Linked DNA regions of Homo sapiens: regions 2 and 3 are each linked to region 1. Evidence: promoter capture Hi-C in human tissues and cell types (Jung and others, 2019). All regions are on one chromosome and are shown on one strand. Each heading gives the region's core, a stretch centred on a gene start or on the middle of the fragment in contact. The rest is flanking DNA. Distances are from core to core; before and after follow the strand shown. Region 1 holds the start of ONECUT2 (one cut homeobox 2). Region 2 has its middle 86 kb from the start of LINC02565. Region 3 has its middle 75 kb from the start of ST8SIA3.

The links. Contacts are between HindIII fragments. The study calls those that stand out against the background at their distance.
Region 2: a fragment that was not itself captured here is called in contact with the fragment with the promoter of ONECUT2 in region 1 in 2 of the 25 tissues and cell types used here (H1 embryonic stem cells and mesendoderm cells).
Region 3: a contact is called between a fragment that was not itself captured here and the fragment with the promoter of ONECUT2 in region 1, in 1 of the 25 tissues and cell types used here (liver).

The regions. Positions count from the first base shown.
Region 1 is chr18:57,433,885-57,437,097 of GRCh38, forward strand. ONECUT2 (one cut homeobox 2) reads left to right here and starts at 1,490. Exons shown (of 2, transcript NM_004852.3): 1 at 1,490-3,060. The coding sequence starts at 1,833. RefSeq lists enhancers at 216-796, 797-1,376 and a silencer at 1,370-1,419. The HindIII fragment of the contact is 18,346 bases long and covers 1-3,213 here.
Region 2 is chr18:57,255,313-57,258,525 of GRCh38, forward strand. No RefSeq gene overlaps it. Among named protein-coding and RNA genes, the nearest start is that of LINC02565, 86 kb to the left of the region's middle. The HindIII fragment of the contact is 5,857 bases long and covers 1-3,213 here.
Region 3 is chr18:57,276,314-57,279,526 of GRCh38, forward strand. No RefSeq gene overlaps it. Among named protein-coding and RNA genes, the nearest start is that of ST8SIA3, 75 kb to the right of the region's middle. The HindIII fragment of the contact is 4,391 bases long and covers 1-3,213 here.

The DNA of each region.
Region 1 (3,213 bases), core at 240-2,739:
TTAAGGAGACCCCCTGCTCTTCTTTTGACAGCTGATCAAAAGAAAATAGGTCACGCTTCTCAAACTTATGTCCACCCTGTCCTTAATTACTGTCTCTTTAAACAAAGGCAACATCTGCGCAACCTCAGCTAGCTTGAATCTTCGGAGGCAAACAGAGCGCAACCTGCTTTGGAAGAATCTTGTTACGTTTAAGGCTTTATGCCGGGTGTTGGCCTCTCTGTCTTCAACTACCCCTCCACCCCGACTCGGACTGCAGAAATCTCCAACTCTCTGTCCCCCAGTTCCACTCCCACCTCCAGACCTGGGGTTGCCAAACAACGGAAATTCTAGGAAGACGTAGGTGCGGTTTTTAAAGCCTTGGCTTGTGAGCGTTCTCAGGCTGGCCGGGGCGCTGGTCTTTTCAGAAACAAGGTTTGAATATGCAGGTGTCAGCCAGGATTCCTTGTCGTCTGCCCACCGCCGTTTCTCTCCCGGGATTTGAGAGAAGCGGGAGTGTGTGTGTGTGTGTGTGTGTGTGTGTGTGCGCGTGTGTGTGTCTCGTGTTAGGAGAAAGGTCCGTGGTTGCCGTCTCAGCTGGTTTGCTTACTCTCTGCCCCCAGGAGAAGTTTGCTCACTTGGGACACCAGCGACCCTCCTCACCTCCACCTCACCGGTTCTACACTCTCCCCACTTCTTTCCAAGTCGCTGATGCAGAAAGCACTTGGTCACCTTGAAACGGCAGCTCCCGGAATTCTAGTTTTGTTTTGCAATCTAGCAGGGCTCTTCGGAAGCCTCATAACTGAGATTTATGGGCTCACCGGGTAATTAAATGATGTTATTGTGTTAACTTTGCATGCATTACTGCTGCCCGCGCCGCCCGTGGGCCGCCGGCCGGCCGCAGCTCGCTGGCGACGAGGGCACTACAGTTGCTCTGACCGCGTAGATTATGCATGTCCCGGCCTCGGGAATTTACCATGCATTAGAATACATTAGCGCCTGCATTTTAAAAGGCTAAACTATTGGCTCCCAGCTAGGGACTCTCGGTAAGTGGCTTGTTAGTGACGAGTGTTTGTCTATACTGGCACATAGCGGAGTCTTTTGCTCCCGGCTTACTCGCCTCCAGGAAAGCTTTGGGGTGAGGCGAAGGCGATTGAAGCAATGCCCCTTCCCCCAGATCGCAGCTGCTCAGGGGGGACACAGCACGGCATCTTTCACCGAATCTCTCTCGCTCGCTCGCACTCCAGCCTCCCTCTCCCCAGCGACCCCCCCACCTTCTCCTCCCTCCCTCTCCTTGACGTTTGATTCCAGTAGCAAAGGAGGTAAAAAAGGCACCGAGCCGTCAGCCAAACCTGAAAAGTGCGGCCCCGCCCCCTCCACAGCCACTGGTAGCTTCCCGTGGAAGGCCCGCCTCCCGGGGCAGCTGCGGCCTCGGAGTGGTTGCGCTTGGCGCCCGTCGGGCGTGGCCCCGCCCCAGGTCCGGGAGGGTAGGTTGGCTGCCCCGGCGAGCGGCAGAGCCCTTCTGGACAGCTCCCGCTCACCCAAACAGAAGACGTCGGCGCCGGAGCGGGCTCGGACATGGCGAGGCTGCGAGCCGGCCCGAGCGGCGGGGCCCGGTGATCCCTCCCTCCCTCCCCGTCCCCTCCCCTCTCCCGCACGCACGCCCCGTCCGCCCCCACCCCGCCCCCACCCCGGGCGAGCCCGCCCGCAGCCCGGGGCGCACACCCGCACGCGCACTCCTCTCCACTCACTCCCGCGCCCGCCCCCACTCCCGCAGCCGAGCCCCGCCACGCGCGCCTTGCCCGCCCGCCGGCCGCCCCCGCCGCCCCCGCCGCCCCCGGGCCCTGATGGACTGAATGAAGGCTGCCTACACCGCCTATCGATGCCTCACCAAAGACCTAGAAGGCTGCGCCATGAACCCGGAGCTGACAATGGAAAGTCTGGGCACTTTGCACGGGCCGGCCGGCGGCGGCAGTGGCGGGGGCGGCGGCGGGGGCGGCGGGGGCGGCGGCGGGGGCCCGGGCCATGAGCAGGAGCTGCTGGCCAGCCCCAGCCCCCACCACGCGGGCCGCGGCGCCGCTGGCTCGCTGCGGGGCCCTCCGCCGCCTCCAACCGCGCACCAGGAGCTGGGCACGGCGGCAGCGGCGGCAGCGGCGGCGTCGCGCTCGGCCATGGTCACCAGCATGGCCTCGATCCTGGACGGCGGCGACTACCGGCCCGAGCTCTCCATCCCGCTGCACCACGCCATGAGCATGTCCTGCGACTCGTCTCCGCCTGGCATGGGCATGAGCAACACCTACACCACGCTGACACCGCTCCAGCCGCTGCCACCCATCTCCACCGTGTCTGACAAGTTCCACCACCCTCACCCGCACCACCATCCGCACCACCACCACCACCACCACCACCAGCGCCTGTCCGGCAACGTCAGCGGCAGCTTCACCCTCATGCGCGACGAGCGCGGGCTCCCGGCCATGAACAACCTCTACAGTCCCTACAAGGAGATGCCCGGCATGAGCCAGAGCCTGTCCCCGCTGGCCGCCACGCCGCTGGGCAACGGGCTAGGCGGCCTCCACAACGCGCAGCAGAGTCTGCCCAACTACGGTCCGCCGGGCCACGACAAAATGCTCAGCCCCAACTTCGACGCGCACCACACTGCCATGCTGACCCGCGGTGAGCAACACCTGTCCCGCGGCCTGGGCACCCCACCTGCGGCCATGATGTCGCACCTGAACGGCCTGCACCACCCGGGCCACACTCAGTCTCACGGGCCGGTGCTGGCACCCAGTCGCGAGCGGCCACCCTCGTCCTCATCGGGCTCGCAGGTGGCCACGTCGGGCCAGCTGGAAGAAATCAACACCAAAGAGGTGGCCCAGCGCATCACAGCGGAGCTGAAGCGCTACAGTATCCCCCAGGCGATCTTTGCGCAGAGGGTGCTGTGCCGGTCTCAGGGGACTCTCTCCGACCTGCTCCGGAATCCAAAACCGTGGAGTAAACTCAAATCTGGCAGGGAGACCTTCCGCAGGATGTGGAAGTGGCTTCAGGAGCCCGAGTTCCAGCGCATGTCCGCCTTACGCCTGGCAGGTAAGGCCGGGGCTAGCCAGGGGCCAGGCTGCTGGGAAGAGGGCTCCGGGTCCGGTGCTTGTGGCCCAAGTCTGCGCGCCGAGTCACTTCTCTTGATTCTTTCCTTCTCTTTCCTATACACGTCCTCTTTCTTCTCGTTTTTATTTCTTCTTC
Region 2 (3,213 bases), core at 330-2,829, 180 kb before region 1:
CATGGCAAATTCATTTCTCTACAAAAAATACCAGAAAAATTAGATGGGCATGGTGGTACACACCTGTAGTCCCAGCTACTTGGGAGGCTGAGGCAGGGAGATCACTTGAGCCCAGGAGTTTGAGGCTACAGTGAGCTTTCATTATGCCACTGCACTCCAGCCCGGTAACAGGGTAAGGACTTCTCTCAAAAAAAGAGAGAAAATTTGGCAACAATGCGAGACTCTTTCTCAAAAAAATAAATAAAGAGAGAGAGAGAGAAAATTTAAACACAGAGACATGTACAGTGGGAGGGTGAGATGAAGACACAAGAAGAGGCCATATACAAGCTAAGGAACACCTGAGGCTACCAAAAGCTAGGAGATAAGATATAACACATTCTCTCTCACAGCCCTCAGAAAAATCAATCCTGCTGACACCTTGACTTTGTCAAGCCTCAGAACTGTGAGACAATAAGTTTCTGATGTTTAAACCACACAGGTTGTGGTTATCTTGTATGGCAACCTCCAGGAAGGTAACACATAGTTGGATGTGTACAAGTCAAATGTACCTTTGATGAGACTCACCAGAAATACCTTCCTTGTAGAGTTTTTGTGAGGCTCAAATGAGCTAATGTGTATGAAGTGCTCAGTTCTACACCTAGGACTTATTAAATACTCTGTGAGCTCTTACACCATTCATTCAGGTAAAGAGCCATGAGACCTTTGGTGTCAGTCCTCACTGAGTGGGTAGGTAAGGGACAGCTCTCTGGGCCTCAGTTTTCTTCTGGGCAAAATCAAAGTTTGGACATGTCCCTTTCCTTCTAGCCCCGATGCTCTGTACATCCACAACACTTGGAGCTACAGGACATCAGGCAGGATGCTACATGTGAACTTGACCTTGAATGGGGCACCAGGGCACCACCTCTGTAAATATTTCAGGATCATTCTGTGCTGGGCCAGAGGCTGACATATAGTGACCTCCTTGGGCTTGTTTTACAGAAACTAACAAATCAAAAGGACAAAACTCAGTGTCTTGAAATTGATGCCTAATACCTCTCCCTTTCCCATCTGTTCACTACCATTGTTTCACTTCTCTGGTTTGTGATGTCTATAGAGAAAGTTCTTTTTTCTACTGATTTATATCTTTTTTTCTTCAAATAGAAAATATGACTTCTACTGTCTTCTAAAAAGTATTCAGCTAAGTGAGGTTGAAGCATTGGAGTCCCTTCCCCTAAGAGAATCCTCACTGCATACCCTGAATCACCATGTTCTAATTCCTATGACTTGTCCTCACAAACCTTTGGACCTAAGCAGAGCCAGGTTCATCATTAGCTGGGCCCATGGCAGGATGAAAATGTGGGGCCCTGGCCAGGGGTGGGGAATTCAGTTTCCCCTTCCCATAGGTCTGGCTCTTCACCCACTGGAAATAGGCAGTCTCCAAAGGACTGCAATTTCTGCCCTTGGACATGCTCAGTATCTGAACTGGAGTTGAATGAGAGGTCCCAGCTGAGCCATCTGCCAAATGCAGGTGGCCCTTCCAGCCACGATGAGGATGGCTGCTACCCCAGATGCTGCAGGGCACACACCTGCTTTCTGCCCTCTCTGCACCCACACTTAGGCCCTGCCAGAGGAAACACCCAGATGATGGCTGGCAGTGGTTGAGAGGAGGGGAGAGGGAAAGGGAGCAGGAGGCTGGGCAGGGCCTGAGATGCTAGGGGACTGGGGAATGTGCAGTAAGAACCAGTCCAGGAGAGGCAGAGAGGCCATGGGAAGTGGTCTTGTGCTGGACTGAGGCTCCAAGTCCCCAGCATGTGCTCCATTATTCCACTGGACAAATTCCAAGACAAAACAATTAAGAATTTCAAGACTTGGCAACCGCAGATCATCAACTCCCAAACATGAGTCCTTTCTGAGTGCAGAGCCCTGTGGGATGCATGGCTGAATGTCTTAACATACCCATTGTTCAAAACAAAGGCAGGGAGGTGCAGGCATGAGTTTTGGAGGTGGGGCAGGCTTCAGTTCAAACTCTGATTCTCCTGCTTCCACCCTGGGTGATCTGAAGATGGGGATCAAGTGCATACCAAGATGGCTGGCCCATAATAAGGGCTCAGGAAGAGGTAGCTGTTACTGATAGAGGGCTGGGTGATATAGTTTGGATATTTGTCCCTCCAAATCTCATGTAAAATATTGATCCCCAATGTTGGCGGTGGGGCCTAGTGGGAGGTGTTTAGGTCATGGTGGTAGATCCCTCATGAATGGCTTCACACCATCCTTGCAGTAATGAGTGAGTTCTTGCTCTGTTCGTTACTACGAGATCTGATGGTTAAACAGTCTGGCACCTCCTTCCCTTCTTTTCTCTTGCTACCTCTCTTTGTCATATGACCCACCTGCTCCCCGTTTGCCTTCCCACCATGAGTAACAGCTTCCTGAGGCCTCACCAGAAGCTGAGAAGATGCTGGTGCCATGCTTGTACAACCTGCAGAACTGTGAACGAAATAAATCTATTTATAAATTACCCAGCCTCAGGTATTCCCTTATGGCAGCACAAAATGGACTAACACACTAGGTTTCCAACAACTATGCTTCAGGAGCCAGATGCAGTCCTACAGGATGCGTGAATATGGTAGGAATCCAGGAAAATGAGAGAAGAGAAATTTAGACAGACACAGAGGAAAGACTACACAGAGACCAGCTTATAATGGGCTGGAAAGATCAAAGGATACCATGTTCCTGTTTAGTGAGCAGGGAAGTAAAATAGCTGTGGGTATCACTTGTCAAGAGACACTTTACTTTGGTCTCTGAAAATGAAAAAATAGACATCGCTAGGGGTTGGGGGATGGAGATAGGGAAAATGACAAGAAATAATCCATCATTTGGAGAAAATTAAGCTTATCTGTGGGTTTACATATCCATTTGAATATAGTCAAAATGCTCTGGAATCCAGTGAAAGTAATTACAATGATGGATTTTTGCACTTCGTCACACGGTGCAATTAAGGGGTAGGATCCAGCCAATATCTTAAGCCTATTAAGAGATTCATATGGAATCTGGCCATGCTTTCAATGACTTGGATGAGGTTGCATCTCATTTGTGGTGCCCTGACACAAAACATGCCTTGACCATCCAGCCCTGTTCTGGTCCATGGGCACCCTGGGCACACTAGCTCAGGCCAGATGCCAGAGGAGGAAGGTGACAGCAGAGGAGCGAGAGAAGCCTGCTCAGCCTGCTCCCCTG
Region 3 (3,213 bases), core at 261-2,760, 160 kb before region 1:
GAGTTTTCTTGGTTGGTAGCAGAGCATGTGGACATTGGCAAGTTGCCTTGTAAGAACTGAATTGAAAGAATCTGTAAAGAGGGAAGGAACCAGAAGAGATTATTTAAACAACCCTTTCCAGTTTAGTATTCCCTAATTCCATGATGCTTTTGAAAGGAATGCCTGTTTAAAGTCTCCTTTAACTGGAGGATTTAAGACTTGGGATTCAGATGCTGCTTCTCAGGAAGTGGATTTGGAACCAAGACCTAGGCTTCTAAAGTTGGTCAATGAGCAGAAGAACCAAGGGCAACTGACAGACAGTAAACATCTTTTAGAGTAATTTAAAGCAATTATCATAAAACTTCTGATTCATCAGAGATCCAGCCCACCAACAATAAGATTTTTAAAAGGAATTTGAGGCTGTTCTGCTGTTTAACATGAAATACGAGACAGAAATTGGTGTCACGGTCTATGTCCTTGTTACTACAAATAAGCAGGTACATTTCTCTCAAAATATCCAAGGCTTTTGTTGTAGAGCCAAAATTGATCAAAGGTTACTGCAATCTAAAAACAAAAGAAAGAAAGGGAGAGAGAATTCTCCAGTTGCCCGGTTGCTAAGCAACCCTAGTCTGTTCTGGTAACTGGGTCTGGGGGTCTTTGCTTTCATTTGCTGCTGACTTTCACTCCATATATAATATATACCAGCATGTTTATTCTCCTGTAAATGCCCAGCAAATAAAAAGCGATAAAGCCCTTTCACTGAAATTATTCATGTGCTAAAAGCTTTTATCCACATCACTGGTGTGACTGACAATATCATACCAGCAAGCTTCCAGAATTAGTTCTTGTTCTGGCATTGTACTCCTGGGCTTTCTTTCTTTAATAAAAGAAAAAGAGCTACAGTTTGATTTAAGCTTTCTATAGTCTGGCATTACAGCTCTTCAGTACCAATGATTAAGATGTCATGTCTATTCCAGGCACATTTATTCTTCTAGTGGCTGTCAACTTTCTAGAGAAACTACCTTTTACATGATTTTTTCCCCTTTAAAAACTTTGGTTTGCCCCTAGGACTAATCTGCAAGAGAGAATTTGAAAGAGTTACTTGTCCATTCTGGGAGCTTTTTAAGGAAATCTGAATGGCATACAATACCCTCAGCACAGTTTCTCAAAGTGTGTACAAATGATCACTTATGTCAGAATCAATATTCAGGGGTCAGGCCTGGGAATCTGATTTTCTCAACCGTCACCCATCATGCTCTCCTTCTCATCAGGCGATTTTGATGCATGCCTAAATTTGAGCATTTCTAACTGAAAGAATGCCTAACTGCCTAAGTGGTTTTATTTGCACAAGTTAATCAATCCTGGCAAATCTGTATTTTAAAATCAGAGATGGGGGTGGTGTCTCTTCAGGCAAAGGCTTCAGGGTCCCTCAGAAATGACTGACTCTTAGAACTAACACTGTAGGCACTGGCGAGCAGACTGGCCCCCTCTTGCCAGGGAAGGATGGCCTCCCACTAGACAGAAGCCTGACAGTAAAGATGGTCACACATGTGAGGCCTGGCTGAAGGCCACACACACCGAAGGGGAAAGCTTGCTGGTGAACTGTGTTGCTGGCCCAACCCCTTTCCCCTTTTCCTTTAACTAAAGATTTTACTTTGACACTAAAGATTAGTACCCAAAAGTATATGTAGCGGGTACAAATTTTCTAAGTCACAAATTCAAGTATGAGAAAGTATCACTTTTTTCCCCTCTAACAGGATTTGATTTCTCTCTCAGTACCTTATTTCTACCAGATGGCCAGAAACATAGTCTTATTAATTCAGGGAAAATACTGTCGAATTTGGTGATATCTAAACCATTTCAGGTTTAAAACTCAGTCCCATTGAGGATTTCCCACCCTCTCTTGTGCCTTCCTGGAGTTGATCCTACACTCCAGGAAAGGAGGGAGCAGGCCTTGTGCAATGTTGCTGTGGTCCCAGTAGAAGCGAGTGTGGAGGGCCTCTCTCTCTCTCTCTCTCTCTCTCTCTCTCTCTCTCTCTCTCTCTCTCTCTTTCTCTCTCTCTCTCTCTGCCTCTCTCTCAGCCTTTGCAGCTATCATGGGTGGCTCATCCTCCCTGGTTCTGGCCACAGGAAGATCCTTTGCAGGCTGGCCAGCTCTCATTCTCCCACAGAGAACCCAGAGTTTAAGCCGATGTCCTCCTCTCCACATACCTTCTCCCACCCTGATGGTTTGGGGAACTTGTCTATGACCCTTGCAGGGTCCCCAGATGTTGTCTTGGAAGTTAGTCACACGAGTCCTCTCCACTCTCAGATTTCCAAATTTTAAAAGGAGTTTCAAGAAGAAGGAAGAGTCAGGTGCCCTGCCCTGAGCCTAACTCCCTGTCTTCTTTCTCATCAATTTCTTCTTCCCTCCTCCAACCTAAAGTTTCCACCTCCTTCTTGGGGTGAACAATGGGGAAACAGGTGGCTCATATCAGAAGCTGAGCTCTTAGAAGAATAAATCTAAAAAAAGATAGGGATGGAAATGGTGAGGGGTAAGTAAAGGAATTGCAGGAATAAAAATGACCACCTGCAAAAGTTAGCCCTTCCCATCTCATCACACCACATGTACACTAGGTCCCTGGCACTTCATTTATTAGGCAAAATGAAAATATACTGTCAACAAAAATACCTTTAAGTTTACTAAGACTTTTGGTTAAGATGGAGCTCCTTGGTTAAATATCCAATAAGGTGCCTCTGCAGTAGATTTCAAAGTCTTTTTTATCTTGCTGTCAAGCTGTAGCAGTCATGGGGACTTTTGAAATAGCCTCCTGATTGATTGATTGTACTACCATGGTTACATGGGACAAAACTCCATCTGCAAGTGACTCAAGCTAAAGAGAGGAAATTACCAAGCTGCATAATGGAGACATGTGGAGGTTTCAGGCACAACTGGATCAGGAATGGCAAATGATATTATCAGGGCTCAATTTCTCCATCTCTCAGCTCTGCATATTGCTGTCTGACCTCATGCTATGCAAGATGATTGCTGGTAGCTCCAAATTCACAACCCCATAGCTGAACAATCCCATTGGAAATAGGGATTGACATAGCTCTGGCAGAAAAGTCCTGGGGAAGTTTCTCATTGGCTTAGCTGGAGGTAAACTCCCAGCTCTGCACTAATCACTGGGCCAGAGGCATGGCTGTTTGGACAAAAAGGAACAGGTTCTGCTCAAGAAGGAGTCCTGTGGCCAG